Regions from separate parts of the Homo sapiens genome. Here regions 1 and 2 are each linked to region 3. The links are contacts of gene promoters, found by promoter capture Hi-C in blood cells and fetal thymus (Javierre and others, 2016). All regions are on one chromosome and are shown on one strand. The core of a region is centred on a gene start or on the middle of the fragment in contact, and the rest is flanking DNA. Distances in the headings are between cores, read along the strand shown.

Evidence for each region. The method cuts DNA at HindIII sites, captures the fragments that hold promoters and counts their contacts. A CHiCAGO score of 5 or more calls a contact.
Region 1: the fragment with the promoter of GANAB here is called in contact with a fragment that was not itself captured in region 3 in 2 of 17 cell types (activated CD4 T cells and non-activated CD4 T cells); the score reaches 5.8 in activated CD4 T cells.
Region 2: the fragment with the promoter of BSCL2 here is called in contact with a fragment that was not itself captured in region 3 in 2 of 17 cell types (activated CD4 T cells and naive B cells); the score reaches 6.9 in activated CD4 T cells.

Annotation. Positions count from the first base shown.
Region 1 is chr11:62,645,322-62,648,452 of GRCh38, forward strand. It overlaps GANAB (glucosidase II alpha subunit), which reads right to left and starts at 1,292. Exons shown (of 24, transcript NM_198334.3): 1 at 1,241-1,292. The coding sequence starts at 1,278. It overlaps INTS5 (integrator complex subunit 5), which reads right to left. Exons shown (of 2, transcript NM_030628.2): 2 at 1,527-3,131. The coding sequence ends at 1,699. RefSeq lists enhancers at 1-298, 614-773 and a silencer at 1,384-1,463. The HindIII fragment of the contact is 15,573 bases long and covers 1-3,131 here.
Region 2 is chr11:62,706,174-62,709,534 of GRCh38, forward strand. BSCL2 (BSCL2 lipid droplet biogenesis associated, seipin) reads right to left here and starts at 1,251. Exons shown (of 11, transcript NM_001122955.4): 1 at 936-1,251. The coding sequence starts at 1,022. GNG3 (G protein subunit gamma 3) reads left to right here and starts at 1,503. Exons shown (of 3, transcript NM_012202.5): 1 at 1,503-1,742; 2 at 2,122-2,221; 3 at 2,505-3,028. The coding sequence starts at 2,123. The coding sequence ends at 2,633. It overlaps HNRNPUL2-BSCL2 (HNRNPUL2-BSCL2 readthrough (NMD candidate)), which reads right to left. Exons shown (of 24, transcript NR_037946.1): 14 at 936-1,151. RefSeq lists a silencer at 1-294 and enhancers at 1-635, 1,955-3,154, 3,285-3,361. The HindIII fragment of the contact is 17,480 bases long and covers 1-3,361 here.
Region 3 is chr11:62,835,448-62,838,911 of GRCh38, forward strand. It overlaps WDR74 (WD repeat domain 74), which reads right to left. Exons shown (of 11, transcript NM_001369450.1): 4 at 514-589; 5 at 248-394; 6 at 1-85. Among named protein-coding and RNA genes, the nearest start is that of WDR74, 2.4 kb to the right of the region's middle. The HindIII fragment of the contact is 4,232 bases long and covers 9-3,464 here.

The sequences.
Region 1 (3,131 bases), core at 42-2,541, 190 kb before region 3:
GTCAAGAGATCGAGATCATCCTCACCAACATAGTGAAACCCCGTCTCTACTAAAAATACAAAAAAATAGCCAGGCGTGGTGGCGGGTGCCTGTAGTCCCAGCTACTCGGGAGGCTGAGGCAGGAGAATGGCGTGAACCCAGGAGGCGGAGCTTGCAGTGAGCCGAGATCTCGCCACTGCACTCCAGCCTGGGCAACAGAGCGAGACTCTGTCTCTCAAAAAAAAAAAAAAAAGACGTACAGTGAGTTAAATACCCTCTGGGGCCCTATTTGCACAGTCTGTAAAATTGGTTCGGAAAGATGCCAATGGAGATAGGATTCCTAAAGCATCTTTCAGATATGACCTGTTGGAGGGCCCTAAGGAATTCACGGCGGCCTTGACCACCCCAAGAGAGGTGTTCATAGGCCAAAGTCAGGAATAAGCTGCAGGGCAAGTTGCACGCATTTATTGTTTCAGATCACAGGCTCCGAGGGAACTGAGTTTATGATCCACGCTTTCTTCATCGCTTTGGAGAGTACACGCCTACCCCACCCCAGTATATCCGTTAGGTCCTAGTAAACATTTGTGGCACTGGTGATATGTTTCGAATCTTTTTTTTTCCCCAGTAATATAAACCCGAGAGCGTGGACCAAGCCATTCGATTACATGTTGTGTTTGAGCAACACCATCCACGCCGTGAGCTTACTGGACCCTGGGCCGTGCCCAGCGACCGTGGACACTGAACTAAGCCAGAGCTGGTGCTCACGTGAAGACAAGGGCAGAGGAGGATTCGGAGCTCTACAGGGTAGAGCCAGAAGGGTAGTACAGGCTTAACTGCTGGCCCGGTGCTTCCAGCTCAGCCGAGGGGCCGCGGGGCCGCAGGCTGCATTCCCCGAGGCCAGGCCGCATCTTTTCCCCCGCCCCGACGACCCCGCGCACTGCAGGAAGGGGGCGGCGACGTTGACCGCCGCAAGCAGCCAAAGGAGGGCGGCGGCTGAGAGCGGCCAAGACCAAGAAAGACGCACAGCTGTGGCTTTACTAAACCGCCGGGCGGGAGCCCGGAGCCCCACAGGCAAGGCCCCCAGCGTCGCTCGGATCTACCACGGGGAGACCGGAGGCGTCTGAGGCCGCCTCCAGAGGAACAAAGGTTCCTCACGAGGCCGGGGGTGGCAGAGTGTCAAGAGACACACAGGAAGGAGTGGAATGGGACTTGGGGGATCTGGGGGCGTCCCGGGCGCGCCCCCAGATTCCGGGCTCCTCACCGCCTCCTACGCGCCGCCACTGCCGCTACCGCCGCCATCTTGTGCAGAGTTTGCTCCTTGACCCCAAACCTCCCGCCCCATCGCGCGCGCTCAGCCACGTATCCTAGTTCCCGCCCCTTCCGGCCTTATGATTGGTTCGACCTGAGCGCCGCCGGGCAGCTGTCTCATTGGTAGAGTGCGCACTCCAAATTATCGCAGGGGGCGGGGCTTCAGGCCAGGGGCGGGAACGTCCAGAGCCAGGCGCTGTCAGACTTTGCACGCTCTCAGCATGACAGAAGCACTGGACTGGTTTTCTCAAGTTGGCAAATTTTATTTAGAAAAAAAAAAGTGGGAGAGAAAAAAGTGACAGCGCTCTTTAGACCAAGGACTTAGAAGAGAAACCTCCACCCTTCCGGAGCACGTTAGTCCCTTCCCTCTCTCACTGCTCAACCTCCCTGGGCTTCCAGAGCAAGAAAAGGCTACGTCCCCTGTCGAAGGAGAGTGGACGGTGAAGGTGCCTGGAAACGGCCAGAGAAAAGACCTAGGCGGTCGATGTTGCGGTGGAGGACACTGTGCAGCACAGCCAGATGGGGTCCACCCTCACCTCCACCCTCCCTGGAGAAGTCCCGAATGAAGCGACCCCGCTCTGATTGGAAGATGAACTTCTGAGGCAAGGGCCCATGCTCCCGGAGAAAACCCCAGACACTGAGCAGCAGCAGACGCACCTCGAAAGGTGCCAGTTGGCTAAATACTTCATGCATATTACCCAGGGCCGGAGGCAGGAGGCTTCCCTCAGCCATGACAGCCACTAAGGTGCAGGATGCCTCCAGGTGCCAGGGGGAGTGGGTCGTGTCAGGGTGGCGAGAGGCTTCCCAATGGCCCAAGAGGGCGGCCAGCAGCCCCCGAAGCAGCACGGAACAGTAGCACAGGGCTGGGGGTGCAGCTGCTACCAGCTTTAACAGCTCAAAGAGCAGGGGCTGTTCGCGGAAGCGCCGGCCAATGCGGAGATCCCGCTCCACGGTGGCCCGGGCGTGTTCCTCGGGGGGCCAGGCCAGCTCTGCACCAGCTGCATCGGGACACACACTCTCCACCAAGGTCACTGCCACTGCTTTGGCTGCCTCTGGACTCAAGATGGGTGCCCCCCAGCATTCCCCACATTCAGTGCCCCCTGGGGCACTGCAGCAGTGAACCAGGAGGCTGAGGAGGCTCTGGGTGTTATAGATCACTTCCTGCTGATTTCGTGACTGGACAAACTTGGGTGGCTTTAAGCCACGGCCGATGACTCCAGCATGGAAAACTGACCAAATCCCTCCAGGACCTGGCACAGCTGCAGTGTGCCTCCGGTTAGTGTCCAACAGGGAGGCAGAAGCCAAAGAAGCTGAAACAACTGAGAGAGTCTCATTGTCCCCATCTACTTGCCCACCAAACAGTTCTGTGTTGCCTCGATGTAAGGCTCCTTCAACCAGCAGCTGCAGGACAGCCTTGAGCCCAGCTGGGGATGTCTGAGACAGGCGGGTGAGAAGCTGACAGGCTGAGGCCACACCTGGGGGTCCATGCAGCCTCAGAGAGGCAAAGAAGCGGTGCACCCCAGCCCTTACCAGTCCCAGGAGCTGGGAGGGGGATAAGGCTTCAGAAGGAAAGGGACAAATGGCCAGGAGAGAGGCAGCAGCTTCAGCTACTTCCTCCTCAGGATGTAGCAGGAGAGGAGCCAGGTCAGACAGATGGGCTGAGGCAGATTCCCCAAAGTGCGCCCCTAGGGCTGCAGGGCCCTCGCCACCCTGCTGTTCCCACCCTACTAGCAGTGCCAAGTTGCGCAGGAACCGGGCCGTGAAGGGAGGCTGTAATGTCCCTGCATGCACCCGAGCCAGACAGCTTCGGAAAGCCAGGGGCAGGAGGCCAGAGAGGCTGACCA
Region 2 (3,361 bases), core at 1-2,500, 130 kb before region 3:
GGGGTGGGCAAAGCGCCCGGAGCCCCTACCTAATCGTGCAACCATGGAAACCAGCCCGCCGGCTGCCACAGGGCTGCCGACTCACCAGCCTCGCGCGCTGCCAGGGCAACCGTGAGACGGGACTTCCGGCTCCCGGGGAAGTCCCGCCCCTCTCCGCCGGCCGCTTTTGTAGCCGTGGGAGGCGGGGCTTCAGCCCAGGGCGGGGTCCAGCACGGCGGGGCGGGGCGGGACGGGGCGGAGCCTTCCCGAGCTGCGAGGTCGCTGTCTCCTTGCGCTCGCCACTGGCTCTCTCTGCGGCAGGTTTCCCTCCGGTTACCGTGACCAAAGGGGAAAGACGCCTGCCTCCCTGCAGGCCCCAAGATGTGCCCCAGGGGATGCGCTGACTGCAGCCTCCGCTCGGCTCTCCCTTGAGACTGCAATCACAGCCCTCCGTGCACACCTTCACCACAGGCCATTTCACCCGCGAAGCGGCCGAGTGAGGCGGTCATCCAGCTGGCGCTGATTTTTATCGCCCACAGCTCCTAGGACCTGTAGGCATCTAAGGCGGGGGCATTCGCCTAGAGCATGTTGCAGTTTGCGGCAACCTGGGCCTCTTGCGTTGTTGCGCAGGCAGATTAGTGCCCTGTTCCCAGCGTGGTAGCATTGTGGACCTCCTCTGACCCTAACTGGATACACTCTCCCTCAGAGTCCCCACAGCACATTATCTAGACTAGCTTTTGGCAGTCTTCTATTTTGTAGACGTCTAATCACCCCAGATAAAGTCCTTCAGAGGCAAGGCCAGTGTTGTGTACATCTTTGCACACTGCTGCGGGCGTGGGAAGTAATCTATTCAAAATGAATGAAATTCTTAAAACCAATCCATCCCCCCGCCCCCTTCACGCCAGCCCACCTATTTCCAGTATATTTCTGCTGACTGTCCCCACAAGGGCCCCTACCTCCTCTTTGTCCGGTCCTTTGATCTGGTCTCCGCACACCTCTTTTTCCCCAGCTTCCTCCTTTTGGTCTACCTTTTCTGTAGACATCTTCCTGACGAGCCTCTGTTGACTCTGGATCTTCCACTGAGTCACTTGTGGCTAAAACGTGAAGTGGCGATCCAGACGCTGATACCTGTGGCGCATCACATTTTCCTGGATATGGAAAATGGAGGGTCCCTGGGAGAGAAACGAAGATTCAGGTGCTAAGTGCTGTGTCAGAGTAGAGGGAGGAAAGGAGGAGGGGGGCGACTGCCCAGCTGATGTCAGATTTTCAAATGAGCAGGGTCCCCCGCAGCCAGTACAGACTCCACTGCAGGGGCCGTCATAGGCCCAGACCACGCCATTTGAGAGGGGGAGTCGGCCTTGGCCTCAGCTCTGTTGGGGAGGTCTCTAGCCCAGAGTCAGGATGCCTGCAATGGGGGAGGGGCAGGCAGTGAACTAGCGACAGTGGGGGTGTGCGCAGGGATGCAGGCAGCTAGGCTCCCCCACTGGCCAGGCAGTTGGTATGCTCCAGGATCTGAGCAGCTCCTTCTAGCATCCTTCATCCTTCAGGTACCAGCCATCCAGACAGTGCTTGAGCTGCAGAAACTGAGACCAGACCTCTGGCCTGGCCCTCCCCAGGGGCCTCCTTTCGTATAGTCACTGCTTCTGCATCAGATACTTTCAGCTGCAACTCCCTACTGGGTGGGGCACCCATTTCAGGCAGAAGGTTTTGGTACCCTCCACTGACCCTACACCCAGGGCTGCTACTGCCGCTTGTGGCTTCAGGTAAGTAATGGCCTGTTTTTCTCCTGTTGGGGCTCACTGGAGCAGACAGGGGTGATGTGCCCTCCTCATCAGGGTTGGTTGAGGTCTTCAGAGCTGGGAACACACATGGTTTGAAGGGCTGAAAAGCCTTAAATCATTTGTGTAAGGTTTAATGATCTGTGGCCCAGGCCATGAGGGAGTTTGGGGAGCACCTCATCCCACCCTATTTTTTTCCATGAGGAATACAGGGATGAGACAGTCCACTGGAGGAGGAGGAGGAGGATAGGAGGGGAACAAAATATTGGGGTATGACCACAGCCTTGTAAAGGTTGGTGTGGAGTGAGCATGGAGGGGGGCCTCCAGCTGAGACTGTGCTCTGAGAGGTCCCTCTTTTTTCCAGGATGAAAGGTGAGACCCCGGTGAACAGCACTATGAGTATTGGGCAAGCACGCAAGATGGTGGAACAGCTTAAGATTGAAGCCAGCTTGTGTCGGATAAAGGTAGGTGGGACCCTGGCTGGCTCCCATTAGTTGGCCAGGCTGTGCTGTGCTGCAGGTTCCCAAAGCTCAAGATAAGAGATGCGTTCTTTCCTTCACTCCCTGAGGTCAGGGGAGGAGTCTGGGGCTCTGTAGAGAGAGCTGTCCCCAGGCCTCTGGGGGGGATGAGGGAGAAGACAAGTCGTAAGGAGCCCTGGAGATGGCAAAAGAGAACCCATTTGGGGAGGGAGGCTGCAGTCCCCTTCAGAGGTCCTGGCTAACAATACCCTTCCTGGCTGTGTCCCAGGTGTCCAAGGCAGCAGCAGACCTGATGACTTACTGTGATGCCCACGCCTGTGAGGATCCCCTCATCACCCCTGTGCCCACTTCGGAGAACCCCTTCCGGGAGAAGAAGTTCTTCTGTGCTCTCCTCTGAGCTCCCCTGTCCCTTCTCACAACTCCTCCCTTTTCCCTCTCCTGGGCCCTTCCTTAGGTCAGTAATTGTTGTGAGCCCCTTAGGCTCCTTGCATCCCATCCCTAACCCTTGCCTGACCATGTGAGGTTATCTGAAGCACAAGGCCCACCCTCACCTATCTGTCGACCCCATTTCCTACCACCTTTGTGGCCGACCCCAAGCACCCCAGAGATATGAGGCACCCTTTGCTCCACCCACAGCAGGGCCCCGTCAGACTCTGCCAGCGCGTCCTGCCCGCTTCCCTCGGTGACCTGCTCAGACAATGGAGAGGGATGGGCCAGGTTCTTGCTCTCAGTCTCACCTGGAGCTACTGGGAGGGTAAAGCCATTTGAAGAATAAAGTCATCCAGAGCCTCAGGACAGCTCCTGTGTTAGAATTCTTGGGGGGAGAGGATCATCAAGCAATAGATCTGCCATACCCAGGGAAAAGGGCCAATCAATGCAGGCTAGACATCGTCAAGGATCGGAGATCAGAGGGGTCGGGGGATGGCGGGCGCGAGAGAGCGTCCACAGTGTAAGAATTAAGTACAAAAGACGCTCAAGAGGCTGCGAAGAGCAAACACACACACACAAACGTGCAACGAAGCCAAGTTAAAAGGTAAACAGGCCGAAGAGGGGGGATTTAGGGGAGGGTGCGGGAGTGCAGTCGTACAGCAGAGGAACTCTTAGGAGGGTAGGGGCGGAGCTTGG
Region 3 (3,464 bases), core at 875-3,374:
AGGTGACAAGCTTCTGTGATCCTGGGAGAAACTGTATGTCCTGGTCCCAGATGGGAACCCGCAAGTCCAGCCAGTCATTCCGCACCTGGTGGGGTGGGCAGATGGAGGACAGGGCTATGGGGGGCTCGATGTGCCCCTGTTTTCAGCCCTCCTTCGCCCCCTAAGTCCATCTAGTCTCTAATGCATCGTCAGTGGCCTCAGCCTCCCTCGACTTCAGGAACAGCTCCTTCACACTCTTGTCACTCACGTTCTTGGCCCTGAACACAGGTTCCTCAGAGCCCTGCAGGTCCCATATCTTCAAAGCATTCTCTTTCCCACCTGTGGCAACCACATGGGGGTGTGCTGGGTCTTGGCGCATCCTACACACCCCAGGGCCCACTCTCAGTTCCAGGAGCTGTAAAGAATAGGAGATAAGAGTCCGTTCCAGAGTCCTTAATCCTCCCTTCCCCAGCGTGATCATTAGGCACCTACCCCAGCCCACCTCCCCCAACCATCAGGGCAGGGGAGCCTCACTGGGTCAGAGGATGTGTCCTTGTCCTTGTCATGCCAGACTCTGAGAATCCCAGAATCCACACATGTGATGAGGGTGCTGCAGAGAAAGGATAGAGTTGGGATTTTTTAAGTGCTTAAACTCCTTGTTCTAATCTTTCTCTCCTCCTTACTACTACAGTTGACTAATGTTTAAAGAAAAAAAAAAGTATAAAAGTATTCTCTAGGCCCCAAACTCATATCAACCAGATTCCCTACTAACAGTCCAGTTTAGAAGGAAGCCTCTAGGTCACTGGGCTCTAGGCAGGGCTTGACAGCTTCCAGCTTCCTAATCTGTTAATTCAACTTTCTCAACAGGGTGAGGGTTTACCAAGTGAGGAAATAGAAGCGCTGAGAAACTAATTTGCCACTCAGCTATGTTACAACCACAGCTAGAAATCAACTCTGTGATATTCCAGAGTGCTTTTGCTGTTCACAGCTATGTCTAGCATCTGGCTGTACTGGTCTGTCTGAATCTTGAGTTGCTTACTAGGGCTGGTCTGAATTTAGGGCTTGGTCAAAGTCAAACACCAACTTCTTGGGTTCCTTGCTCTGAGTTTCAGGCACTAAATGTCAGTCTCTTGCTTAAAATATCCCTCCCGAGAAGTCCAAGCAAGTCTCTCCCCAGGATCTGCACAGCCTGCGCCTATGTTCTTTCTCACACCTGCCAACCCTCCCTAGCTGGGTTCGGGCTCTGTATCGACTTGCCTGACCTGTGGCAAAAGTCTCCCAGTTGCTGTCTCCAATCCATCCTCCATACTCCTACAGGCTCCCAGTGCTGACTATGGTACTTCCTATTCAAAAACTGATAACTTGGCCAGGCACAGTGGCTCACGCCTATAATCCCAGCACTTTGGGAGGCCAAGGCAGGCAGATCACCTGAGGTCAGGAGTTCCAGACCAGCCTGGCCAACATATAGTGAAATCTTGTCTCTACTAAAAAATACAAAAATTAGCTGGGTGTGGTGGTACATGCCTGTAGTCCTAGCTACTTGGGAAGTTGAGGCAGGAGAATCGCCTGAACCAGGGAGGTGGAGGTTGCAGTGAGCCGAGATCATGCCACTGCACTTCAGCCTCAGTGACAGAGCAAGACTCCGTCTCTCAGAAAAACAAAAACAATAAATGAATAACTCACCAACACCAATAAAAGTGCACATCTCTCAACCTAGCACTTAAAGCCCTTTACATTTAATCCCAACCTAATATAGTGTTCATCTTGTATTAAAATGCTTCCTTGGCCGGGTGCAGTGGTTCACGCCTGTAATCCCAGCATTTTGGGAGGCTGAGGTGGGCGGATTGCCTGAGGTCAGGAGTTCCAGACTAGCCTGGCCAACATAGTGAAACCCTGTCTCTAATAAAAATACAAAAAAAACTTAGCTGGGCGTGGTGGCGGATGCCTGTAATCCCAGCTACTCAGGAGGCTGAGGCAAGAGAATCGCTTGAGCCTGGGAGGCAGAAGTTGCAGTGAGCCGAGACTGTGCCACTGCACTCCAGCCTGGGCAACAGAGTGAGACTCCGTATATAAAAAAAAAACAAAAAACAAAAAAAAAAAAACGCTTCCTTGTTATCAACTTCCAAATCAAATGCTATTTATCCTATTTATGTACCCTGTAGCATGCCTCCAGTCCTTGGCCTCTCCCAGGCAGTACCCTCTTTCTAGAATACCCTTATCCCCTTCTCCACCAGTCAAAATTCTACCCATCCCTCAAGAACCAGTTCAGACATCCAGTCCCCCCCACAGGCTTTCCAGACCTCACCTGTCAGAATTACCACCACCAAACCTATGCAGCCTGCTTCACAGCCCTCTTTCATCATCTTTGGAAGAAAGCAAGGCCAGTCATCCAACCACTTAGCACCTTCCTAATCTTTGCTTTCAGAGCTACATCACCTTGTTGGTGGTTGAGCTCAAGTTGAGCCCAGGAGTTTGAGACTGGCCTGGGCACACAGTGAGACCCCATCTCTATAAAAAACTTAAAAATTTAGCTGGGCAGGGTGACACCTGCCTGTGGTCCCAGGTACTCAGGAGGTTGAGGCGGGAGGATCGTTTGACCCCGGGAGGTTGAGGCTGTAGTGAGCCATGAATGCACCACTGCACTCAAGCCTAGGTGACACAGTGAGGCTCTGTCTCAAAAAATATAAATGAATTAATAATGAATTAATGAATGCATGCTTAAAACTTTTTTTGTTGTTTTTTTTGAGATGGAGTCTTGCTCTGTTTCACAGACTGGAGTGCACTGGTGCGATCTCTGCTCACTGCAACCTCTGCGGGACGGATTCAAGCGATTCTCCAGCCTCGGCCTCCCAAGTAGCTGGGATTACAGGCATGAGCCACCACACCCGGATAATTTTTGTATTTTTTTAGTAGAGAAGGGGTTTTACCGTGCTGGCCAGGCTGGTCTTGAACTCCTGACCTCAAGTGATCCACCTATCTCGGCCTTCCAAAGTGCTGGGATGACAGGCATGAGCCACCACACCCAGCCTTGCTTAAAACTATTAAATGACAAGCAGGCACAGTGGCTCACGCCTGTAATCCCAGCACTTTGGGAGTCCGAGGCAGGTGGATCACCTGAGGTCAGGAGTTCGAGACCAGCCTAGCCAATACGGTGAAACCCCGTCTCTACTAAAGATACAAAAATAGCCGCGCGTGGTGGCAGACGCCTGTAATCCCAGGTACTTGGGAGGCTGAGGCAGGAGTATCGCTTGAACCCGGGAGGCGGAGGTTGCAGTGAGCCGAGATCGCGCCACTGCACTCCAGCCTGGGCAACAAGAGCGAAAACTCCGTCTCCAAAAAAAAAAAAAACAAAAAACAAACACACACACACACAAAACTATTAAATGACTTGCCCATGGTTACTTAGAGGATTATAATGGAGTCAGGTGAAAAACCTTAGAGGATGAGAACTTTTTGAAGGCAGAAATTTTACCGGCAGCCCCTGT